Regions from separate parts of the Homo sapiens genome. Here region 1 is linked to region 2. The links are contacts of gene promoters, found by promoter capture Hi-C in blood cells and fetal thymus (Javierre and others, 2016). All regions are on one chromosome and are shown on one strand. Each heading gives the region's core, a stretch centred on a gene start or on the middle of the fragment in contact. The rest is flanking DNA. Distances are from core to core; before and after follow the strand shown. Region 1 has its middle 4.3 kb from the start of IQGAP1. Region 2 holds the start of CRTC3-AS1 (CRTC3 antisense RNA 1).

The links. The method cuts DNA at HindIII sites, captures the fragments that hold promoters and counts their contacts. A CHiCAGO score of 5 or more calls a contact.
Region 1: a contact is called between a fragment that was not itself captured here and the fragment with the promoter of CRTC3-AS1 in region 2, in 3 of 17 cell types (activated CD4 T cells, total B cells and fetal thymus). The highest score is 6.5, in activated CD4 T cells.

Annotation. Positions count from the first base shown.
Region 1 is chr15:90,381,275-90,386,590 of GRCh38, forward strand. It overlaps the pseudogene NDUFA3P4. Among named protein-coding and RNA genes, the nearest start is that of IQGAP1, 4.3 kb to the right of the region's middle. The HindIII fragment of the contact is 1,603 bases long and covers 1,381-2,983 here.
Region 2 is chr15:90,714,810-90,720,313 of GRCh38, forward strand. It overlaps CRTC3-AS1 (CRTC3 antisense RNA 1), which reads right to left and starts at 2,331. Exons shown (of 4, transcript NR_120372.1): 1 at 2,172-2,331. It overlaps BLM (BLM RecQ like helicase), which reads left to right and starts at 2,537. Exons shown (of 22, transcript NM_000057.4): 1 at 2,537-2,631. The HindIII fragment of the contact is 2,609 bases long and covers 1-2,531 here.

The DNA of each region.
Region 1 (5,316 bases), core at 932-3,431, 330 kb before region 2:
CAGAGTGCCACACACTCTTAAATGACCAGATCTCATGAAAACTCACTCCCTATCACAAGAACAGCAGCAAGGGAATGGTGCTAAACCATTCAAGAGAAAACCGCCCCCATGATCCAATCACCTCCCACCAGGCCCCATCTCCAACACTGGGGATTATAGTTCAACATGAGATTTGGATGGGGACCAATATCCAAACTATGTCAACAATTGTGTTACTTCTCCATCTACTTTTCTCCTGGTAGCTGGCTAGTTTCTCTTAACACTGATTGTAAGACCTATCCTGATTTCAGAGGCATTTAAATATAAAAAAAATTGGGACTTATTTCTTGAAAATGTTGTACTTACTAGACAGTAAGACTTATTTCTGAAGATACCTGGTTTCTAAAAGTACTACTGGGAAATATAATAAATGAGGAAGTGATTAATTTTGCCTGGGGAGTAGGTGACATTTGAATTGGGTCTGGGAGGTTCAGTAGGAGTTTCCCAGGCAGATAATAGGCTAAAAGGTATTCCAAGCAAGGGAAACTTCTATTATGGTGCTTATCTCAAGATATCCTGTTAATATTGCTTGACTCCTCCTGGCTTGTAAATTCTTTGTGGTCATTAACCAATTTTGACTCCCAAAATGACCATTTACCTCATTATTTTGCCGTTTATTCATTTCATATTTACTAATTTTATTCATATTTATATTTGCTGACAAAATAGTATTTCCAGCAGCTCATTTTAAATACAGACAAGCAAGCAAGCAAACCCCACACAAATCCAGTGTAATAGCACTGCCTGGAGAAGCCACTGTTAATATATTGGTGTATATACTTCAAGGCTTTATCTATTCATATGCACATATCCATCAATGTATCTATCTATCTAGCTACATTTAAAACAAAATGGTATCATATTTATTAGTCATAATTTGATATATTAACTTAACCACAATATTAAAATATTGTACTGCCAGCCTGTACATTTTTTGCCTGCCCAGCCTCCCACTGAAGGAAATTATGCCCAGCTCATAGTTCTCTATGCTTAATTATCTGTATCTCCTGATCATAGTTGATTGAAGTAAAGGATCAGCATCCAATCTAAGGGCAGCCTGCCTGTGGGTGGTCAGAGATTTACCCACAGGGTGGAAAGCTGAGCTGGGTCAATCATATGCCACTCTATGGGTTATGGAGTTAGGCAATTGAGATGATCCTCAATGGAGCTGATGATGTAAGGATACCATGACCTTCAGTCAAAGCCATGGCAAGGCAAGCAGAAACAAGAGTTGTGAGGGAACAGAAAAAATTAAATGGAGTAAGCTGGTTAGCAAAGAGTGGAGAGTAGAGCCAGCCTGTGGAAAAGCAGAGATGCCCAGAGAATGAAACCATGACTTCAAGCTTTCATTAGTCCTGTTTTTTTTTGTTTAGTGTAGTTTTGTTTTTGGTGCAGTTCCAGTCCATATAGGTCTGTATAAGAAAGGCCTCCCTTCCAGCCTTTTTTCCTCTAGAAGTAAAACTGTGCATGTCTGTTTCCTGTAGCCAGTCAAGCCTGACCAGACCACAGATCATCACTGTTCATGGCTATATGGCATTCTATTGTGTATAGCTGCCATCACTGATTTAAACACCTACTGATGGACATTTGAGTAATTTCCAAGGAGCATCTTCATGGATAACTTTTGCACATTTAATAAAAGCACGATATCCTTATGATACATTCCAAGAAGTGAAGTTTTTTGGTTGAAGAATAGATGCATAATGATAAGCTGGTCTTTAGAAAGACTATATTAATTTATTGCCTACTAACATTGCATAAGAGTGGTTGCTTTTTCACCCCCTTGCCAATAATATCAATTAAAAAGACAAACCAAAATGTTGCTACATATGATAGGCAAGAAGTGATATGTGGCATGTTATCTTTTCTATTTTTTTTTTTTTTGGTGATGGGTCTCACTCTGTCTACCTGGGCAGGAGCACAGTGGCGGGATCACAGCTCACTGCAGCCTCAACTCCCAGGCTCAAGCGATCCTCCCACCTCAGCCTTTTGGGTAGCATGCCACCACGCTGGGCTAATTTTTTGTATTTTCTGTAGAGACGGGGTTTTTCATTTTGCCCAGGCTGGTCTTGAACTCCTGGCCTCAAGCAATCCTCTCTCCTCTGCTTCCCAAAGTGCTGGGGGGTATAGGTGTGAGCCGTTGTGCCTGGCCAGCATGTTATTATCTTAATGTCTATTTCTCTGAATCTTGAGTTTATTGACTAGGAATTGGGCTTTGTCATTAGACAGGCCTGGGTTTGAGTTCCAGCTCTGCCTCTTGCTGTGTGGCTTCAGGTAAGTAACCCAGTTCTCCATTTTCCCAAGTGTAAAATGGACATAATGGGATTATTACAAGGATCAGCTGAGAAAATAAATGTGCAACACTTAGTATAGTAAGGTACCAGTGCAGTTGGTAACTTAACATCTCTGTGGCTTTCACCTCAGACAAACTTTGTAATTAAGTAAAGAAAGCCTTTATGGAATGAACAATTGGATTAATATGTTGGAGTTAAGAAGAAATATTTCGGCTGGGCATGGTGGCTCATGCCTATAACCCCAGCACATTGGGAGGCCAAGGTGGGCAGATCACTTGAGGTCAAGAGTTCGAGACCAGCCTGGCCAACATGGCAAAACCTCACCTCCAGTAAAAATACAAAAATTAGCCGGGTGTGGTCGTGTGCGCCTGTAAGCCCAGCTACTCAGGAGGCTGAGGCAGGATAATCACTTGAACTTGGGAGGCTGAGGTTGCAGTGAGCCGAAATCACGCCACTGCACTCCAGCCTGGGTGACAGAGTGAAACTCTGTCTCAAAAAAAAAAAAAAAAAAAGAAGAAGAAGAAGAAATATTTCACATTTTATGTATTCGCAATGTTTAAGAAAATTTGGCCGACTTGAATGACAGCTTTTTTGTAAATCATTTTAAATGTGTAATTGAGTTAGTTTTAGACTTAGGTTTTTGAGTTGAAAGCTTACTAAGTTTACACATGGAATCAGGCCATCTAAGAGAATGTTAGCTTTGTTATGCTTGTATGTTTATTTATAGGAATTACTAAGTTTTGAAAAAGTTTTAAACAATTGAATGAATTAAAAAGAAAATCTAGGCCGGGCACAGTGGTTCACGCCTGTAATCCAAGCAGTTTGGGAGGCAGAGGTGGGTGGATCACCTGAGGTCAGGAGTTCAAGACCAGCCTGGGCAACATGGTGAAATCCCGTCTCTACTAAAAATACAAAAATTAGCTGGGCGCGGTGGTGCGTGCCTGTAATCCCAGCTACTCAGGAGGCTGAGGCAGGAGAATCGCTTGAGCCCAGGAGGCAGAGGTTGCAATGAGCCAAGATTGTGCCATTACACTCCAGCCTGTGCGACAGAGTGAGACTCCGTCTCAAAAAAAAAAAAAAGTTTTGAAAAAGTTTTATACGATTGAATGAACTAAAAAGAAAATCTAGGCCAGGTGCGGTGGCTCATGCCTGTAATCTTAGCACTTTGGGAGGCCGAGGCCAGTGGATCACAAGGTCAGGAGTTTGAGACCAGCCTGGCCAATATAGTGAAACCCCATCTCTAATAAAAAAATATATATATATATAAAATTAGCCAGGTGTGGTGGCGGGTGCCTGTAATTCCAGCCACTTGGGAGGCTGAGGCAGAAGAATCCCTTGAACCCGGGAGGCGGAGGTTGCAGTGAGCTGAGATTGCACCATTGCACTCCAGCCTGGGTGACAAGAGTGAAACTCCATCTCAAAAGAAAAAAAAAAAGAAAATGTAATAGGAAATCTAATATAGACAATATAATAGGCACAATTTATTCTTTATTATTATTTTTTATTTTTATTTATTTATTTTTTTGAGATGGAGTCTCGCTCTATTGCCTAGGCTAGAGTGCAGAGGCATGATCTTGGCTCACTGCAAGCTCCGCCTCCAGGGTTCACGCCATTCTCCTGCCTCAGCCTCCCGAGTAGCTGGAATACAGGTGCCCGCCACCATGCCCGGCTAATTTTTTTTTTTTTTGTGTTTTTAATAGAGCTGGGGTTTCACCGTGTTAGCCTGGATGGTCTCAATATCCTGACCTCGTGATTCGCCCACCTCGGCCTCCGAAAGTGCTAGGATTACAGGCGTGAGCCACCGTGCCCGGCAATTATTATTATTTTTTAAAAGACAGTCTCGCTCCGTCAACCAGGCTGGATTGCAGGAGCACAATCTCGGCTCACTGCAACCTCTGCCTCCTGGGTTCAAGTGATTCTCCTGCCTTAGCCTCCCGAGTAGCTGGGACTACAGGCGTGTGTCACCATACTAAGCTAATTTTTTTGTATTTTAGTAGAGACGGGGGTTTCACCATGTTGGCCAGGCTGCTCTCGAACTCCTGACCTAAGGTGATCCACCCACCTTGACCTCCCAAAGTGCTCGGATTACAGGTGTGAGCCACTGTGCCTGCCCTAGTAGGCATAATTTTAAATATTTGAAGATGTTGAATTAACTGAGTGAGACTTAAAAAAAAATTTTCAGGAAATTTCAGAATGCTCTATGTCCTCGTTGCCATTGCGGCTGCCTTTCTCAAGAATGCCTGGCCTAAGGAGCGGGTGCTGGTCCTGTTCCTCACCATCGGGGGCCTAGCTATAAATCTGACCCCAGTCTGCCCCTATACCATGTACTCCACCAGGATCAACTAGGCCACGCCCCACAACAACCCAGTGCCCCTCCGAGATGATGGGAACATGCTGGACATGCCCAGCCACCCCCAAGGCCCAAGCATGGAGTGGTTGAAGAAACTGCAAGCACTTCCATTGACATGGAGAAGACCATGTCCCCTGTGGCCCCCAATAAAAATGTGACCCCCCCGCCTCCGAAATAAATAAATCATTCAGTTTCTGAAAAGTGTTTGGTAAAATGTGCTAGACTTATAAATAGAATAATACAATTTGTAAAGTGAACTTAAAAGCTTAAGAATGAAATAACTTTTTACTTTGTAGGCTTAATAAATGAAACCCTTGCCCACTTTTCTACAGGGGTGTTTTGTTCTTACAGGTTTTCAAGTATCTTTAATAGTCTGAAGGAAGAGTGAATACATTGAAAATAGCTGGAGCAAAACATCTGGAGTCAGGCTATGATTTGGCATGCTAAATCATGCTGAACTTGGCCCATTATCTTGAAGGGAGGAATAGAAAAAAAAATTTAAAAAGAGAAACACAATTGCATTTGCACTTTAGAGAGAACACCCTGATAACTGTGAGGATCTAGTTGGCAGAAGGGCGACTACAGTGTAATCACAACAGGGATGGAGACAAAAGTAGACATCTCAGAAATAAA
Region 2 (5,504 bases), core at 1,081-3,580:
CAAGGCAGGCAGATCACCTGAGGTCAGAAGTTCATGACCAGCCTGGACCACATGGTGAAACCCCATCTCTACTAAAAATACAATAAATTAGCCAGGCGTGGTGGCACGTACCTGTAGTCCCAGCTGCTCGGGAAGCTGGGGCAGGAAAATCGCTTGAACCTGGGAAGTGGAGGTTGCAGTGAGCTGAGATCACACCACTGTACTCCAGTCTGGGTGACAGAGCAAGACTCCATCTAAGACAAACAACAAAAAAATGATTACTGGGTGTCATTGAAAAACAAGGTGCCCAGCTGTCCAGCTTACTTTTCTAGGATGTCTGATTCTATGAAGACTCTAAACCTTTCACTGTCTTTGAGCTACAGAACAACTATACAAACTATAGACACTTCTTGTCTATAGAAATGCAAATTGTGGCCGGGCACGGTGGCTCATGCCTGTAATCCTAACACTTTGGGAGGCCAAGACAGGCGGATCACCTGAGGTCAGGAGTTCGAGACCAGCCTGGCCAACACGGTGAAACCCTGTCTCTACTAAAATACAAAAAGCTAGCTGGGCATGATGGCGGGTGCCTGTAATCCCAGCTACTCGGGAGGCTGAGACGGGAGACTCTATTGAACCTGGGAGATGGTGGTTGCGGTGAGCCGAGCTTGCGCCACTGCACTCCAGCCTGGGCGGCTGAGTGAGACTCCGTCTCAAAAAAAAAAAAAAAAAAAGAAATGCAAATTGTTTTCAGTAGAATGCAATTGATTACTAAGCTGTGGATTTCATCAGTTCTGCCAGTTTTTGTATATATTTGTAGTTATTTCATTATTCCTCATTTGACTATGTGTGTGGTACTTTGAATTTTCCATTGAAGCAGTTGTAATCTTTCTGGATATCTCATTCATTAATGAGTTAAATAAAATCTCTAACATTTATTTTATATCTGTATTATATTTGATATTAAAATTATTCTTCAACAGTAGTATACAGTTATATGAATAAGCTGCAATTTATCTATTCATCTATTGGTGGACATCTGGGTTTTTTCCCTTTGGCTATTATGAATAAAGCTGCTATGAGTCTTTTGGTGAATAAAGGCATTCATTTTTTGGGGTAAATATCTAGAAATGGGATTTCTGGGGTATAGGGTAGGGGTAAATTTGATTTCAGTAGAGACTGATGTTTCCAAAGTGGTTGTACCATTTTACACTCCCATCAACACTGTATGAGAGTCCCATTTCTGCATCTTTGCAACTAAGGGAATTGTCAGTCTTTTCATTTCAGCTATTCTATGGAGTGTTTAATAGTATCATATTTTGGTTTCAATTTACCATAGAAGATTTTCAGGAGGGAGGTAACTTGAACAGATTTTTACATTTTAGAAAACTCTTTCTGCGTATTATGTGGAGAATGATTATTTGTATACCAAAGTTCATAGCAGCATTATTCACAATAGCCAAAAGGTGGGAATAACCAAGCATCCATTTATATGGATGAATGGATAAACAAAATGTAGTATACATGTATAATGGAATATTATTTAGCCTCAAGAAGGAAGAAATTCTGATACATGCTACAACATAGATGCTCCTTGAAGACATTATGCTAAGTGAAATAAGCCAATCAGAAAAGAGCAATTATTGTATGATTCAATTTATATGCGGTACCTCGCACTTACAGACAGAAAGTGCAATATCGGCTATAAGGGGTTGTGAGAAACGGGTAACGGGGAGTTACTGTGTAACAGGCAGATTTTCTATTTGGGATAATGAAAAAGTTCTGGAGATGGATAGTGGTGATGGTTTCACAACAATGTGAATGTACTTAATGCCAGTGAACTGTACACTTAAAAATGGTGAATTTTATGTTAGATAGATTTTATCACACACACAAAGAGGAGGGAGGGCGGGAGGGAAGGAGAGAGGGAAGGAAGTAGAGAGGGGAGAAGAGAGGAAGAAAGGAAAGAAAGTAAGATCTGGCATCACAGGGCCCACATTCCCGCGTGTCAGCAATAGGCTGAAACAGAAGCATGGTTTCTCACGTGTCCATGGAGGCATCTGAGTGTGTGCCCACTTTCCCGGTTCAATGACAATTTGCACCTGCTCGTGTAGAGGGGTACGGGTGAAACAGAGACCAGTATTATTAAGGGGATGGAGAGGAGAGACCGCCAAAACATCGCAGAGACACACCGTCGGAACCAAGAGAATGGGGTGCAGACGCCTGGCTTGGCCTGTGGGAACTGGCAAGTCTCAGCTCTCAAACGCCCGGGCTTTTCAACCCGCCACAGCCGGGTTCCAGCTGCCTACTTCCTTTAAAGCCTTCACCGACTCTAAAACACCAAAAACAAAGACCCAACTAGCTCCGGAAGCCCGAGATGTAACCGTAGTCATCTGACCCTCCCGTCCGGACTCTGATTGGGCTTTGGAGATACGCGTCCCTCCCGGCGCTGTACGGCGACCCCGCCCCAGCAGCCTGAGGGGGCGGGAACAGATGTCCGAGTGCGACAGTATTGGTCGGCTTCCCCAGGAAGCAGCCAATCGGAATAGGCAAGCTTCCGGCGGGAAGTGAGCCAGGGCTTGGCGCGGCGGCCGTGGTTGCGGCGCGGGAAGTTTGGATCCTGGTTCCGTCCGCTAGGAGTCTGCGTGCGAGGTGAGTACCGCGCGCGTAACTACGGGTCGGTCCGCATTGATCTAGCCCTGCTCTGGCGGCCCGGCCCGGAGCTGGAGGCCGCTCGGGTTCTTCCGTTTCCTGCACTGGTTCGCCTCGGCCCGCTGAGTCCTCTAGTCTGGCCAACATCCTGGGAGGACAGCAGATACATAAATACGTTCCCAAATGGGGAAACAGAGGCCCGGGGCGGGGGCGAACTCTGCCAAGGTCTCCCGGGGCGTCGGAGGCCGAGCATGGGCTAGGACCTGGCATGTTGTTGCCCATATACTCCAGTGCGTAACATGATGCCCTGCACAGAGTAATCCCAGCCCAGACCTCTGGCACTACTACCTCCGTGTCCCTCCTGAGGAACAACGAAAACACTTTGTACTTTTTCTGTGGCCTTCCATAATCACGAGCTGGGCTACTCTTGTTTTTGAGTGTCTACTGTGTGCCATGTTCCTGGCACCCTTGATCTTACAACTGTAGCTTTACGATATCCCAGCAAAGCGAAGTGCTTAAGAATACTGCATCAGATTGCTTGGGTTCGAATTCTGGCTCCTTCACATTTAGCTCTGTGTCTACTGCACGTTACTGAAACACTAAGTGTCTTGGTTTTCGTCTGTCATATGGGGGAAATGGTCTCTTCTACTTCCTGGCGTTTTTGTTAGGATTAAACGACTTAATATATGCAATAATAAATGCTTCGAAGGCTACCTGTTACATAGTACACAGTAAGGGTTCTGTTATCATTACCCAGAGAAGCGGATGAAATTGTCCCCATTTTAGACATGGAGAATCTGAAGTACAAAGAGGTTGTCTCCGTACAGAAAGAGCATTTGGTGATTAAGTGCTAGAGATACAGGATTTGAACTAAGCGCCTGATTTTAAAGTATGTCCCACAACATTAGGCTTTCTCCTATAGCCCTCACCTGTCCTTAGGTCACACAGAACTTTAGGTACCTCATGGCGTGAGATGGAGCAGGTGACTGACAGCTCCTTGTGCCACCCATGCAGATAAATAACACTGGTGTGTCACTGTCAAGATTAAGGGACAGGAATTCGAGAGACTGCATGAGAGATCAGAAGATGAAGAAGCGGGTAGGCAAAAGTATTCTGTTTGGGGAATAGTAAATAGAATTAATTAAATCAACATTTTGTTAGCTGGGCTGCTTATACTGTCAGACAGTAGCTTATAATCTACTGGGAAGAAATGAAATTTCTGGGTCCTGTGTCACTTTCAATGCCACTCACCATGACAGGTACCTTATAAGTATAGTTTACAGTCCTATCAGTAACCTGGAGAAGTAGTTATTTCCTTCGTTTTACTGAGGAAACCAAGAGTTAAAAAATCAGGAAAAGTGTTAGATGTGCAGTAGAACATCATCATGCTGGGAAGTTCTACACATCCGCTTCAGGACAGGTGGTATTACCTATGAGCAGGAAGGGAAGGGAAAAAGGTAAGGGGAATGAGTGATAGTTTATTGTTTTGATTTTTAAATTTTTATCTGTTTTTTCCTTTTTCATAGTCATTCCTGGAATGAGTGAGTTTGTTTTTGTTTTTGTTTTTGGGGGATGGAGTCTCGCTCTGTCGCCCAGGCTGGAGTGCAGTGGCGCGATCTTGGCTCACTGCAAGCTCCGCCTCCCGGGTTCATGCCATTCTCCTGCCTCAGCCTCCCAAATAGCTGGGACTACAGGCACCCACCACCACGCCCAGCTAATTTTTTGTATTTTTAGTAGAGACGGGGTTTCACTGTGTTAGCCAGGATGGTCTCGATCTCCTGACCTCGTGATCCGCCTGCCTCCGCCTCCCAAGGTGCTGGGATTACAGGCGAGCCACCGCGCCCGGCCATGAGTGAGATTTTAAATATATCTGAAATGAGGCCAGGCACAGTGGCTCACACCCATAATCCCAGCACTTTGGGAGGATGAGGCGGGCGAATCACCTGAGGCCAGGAGTTCGAGACTTGCCTCACCAACATGGCGAAACTCCCTCTCTATAGTAAATACAAAATTATCTGGGCGTGGTGGTGTGCGCCTGTGGTTCTAGCTACTGGGGAGGCTGAGGCACGAGAATCGCTTGAACCCAGGAGGCTGCAGTTAGTCAAGATTGCACCACTGCACTCCAGCCTGGGTGACAGAGTGAGAGTCCGTCAGTCAATCTACCTGAAATGTTTTATGCCTTTAAAAGAGAGAGAATAGGGCCGAGTTTAACTTTTTAAATTTGGTTGGTGGGTACATGGGTGTAATTCTATTTTCTGTATCTTTATGTAAGAAATATTAAAAATTAAAAGATATACATATATATTTTAATTTACATATATATGTGTTTTTTTCTAAGAGAAAAATGGATAGAATAAAGAGGTCCAAGATAATCGTAGAATAATCCTAGGACTTCAGTGCTGAAAGCCCCTAAGGGTCTCCACTACCTGTAGGATAAAATCTAAACTCCTTGGCATGATACCAGAGGCTTTTGAGCATTCTGTATCGCTAACACATACTATTCTACCTCAGCCTTTGTACCACTAGTTCATAGACTACTCTTCTTCACAACCTCAGTCCTGTCTGTAAAGTTCCACTTGTCCTTCAATATCCAATTCAGTGTTCTTTGAAAAGCTTCTCTATCATTTGCCTGTTTTTCCTTAATCTGGGAAGCCATAGTCTTTTAAGAAAAGACTTGATTGTCAGACTTATCTCGTTGCATTGTAATTATTTGTTGACATGTCTATTTTCTGCTAGTCTATAAGCTCCTTGAAGGCAGTAATAATGTCTTTCCCATCTCTGTACTTCAGTGCCTACCATGATGCCTGGCACAGAGTAGTCACTGTAGATATTAGCTGAATGAAAAATACAAGTTGAAGACAGAGAGTGAAAGT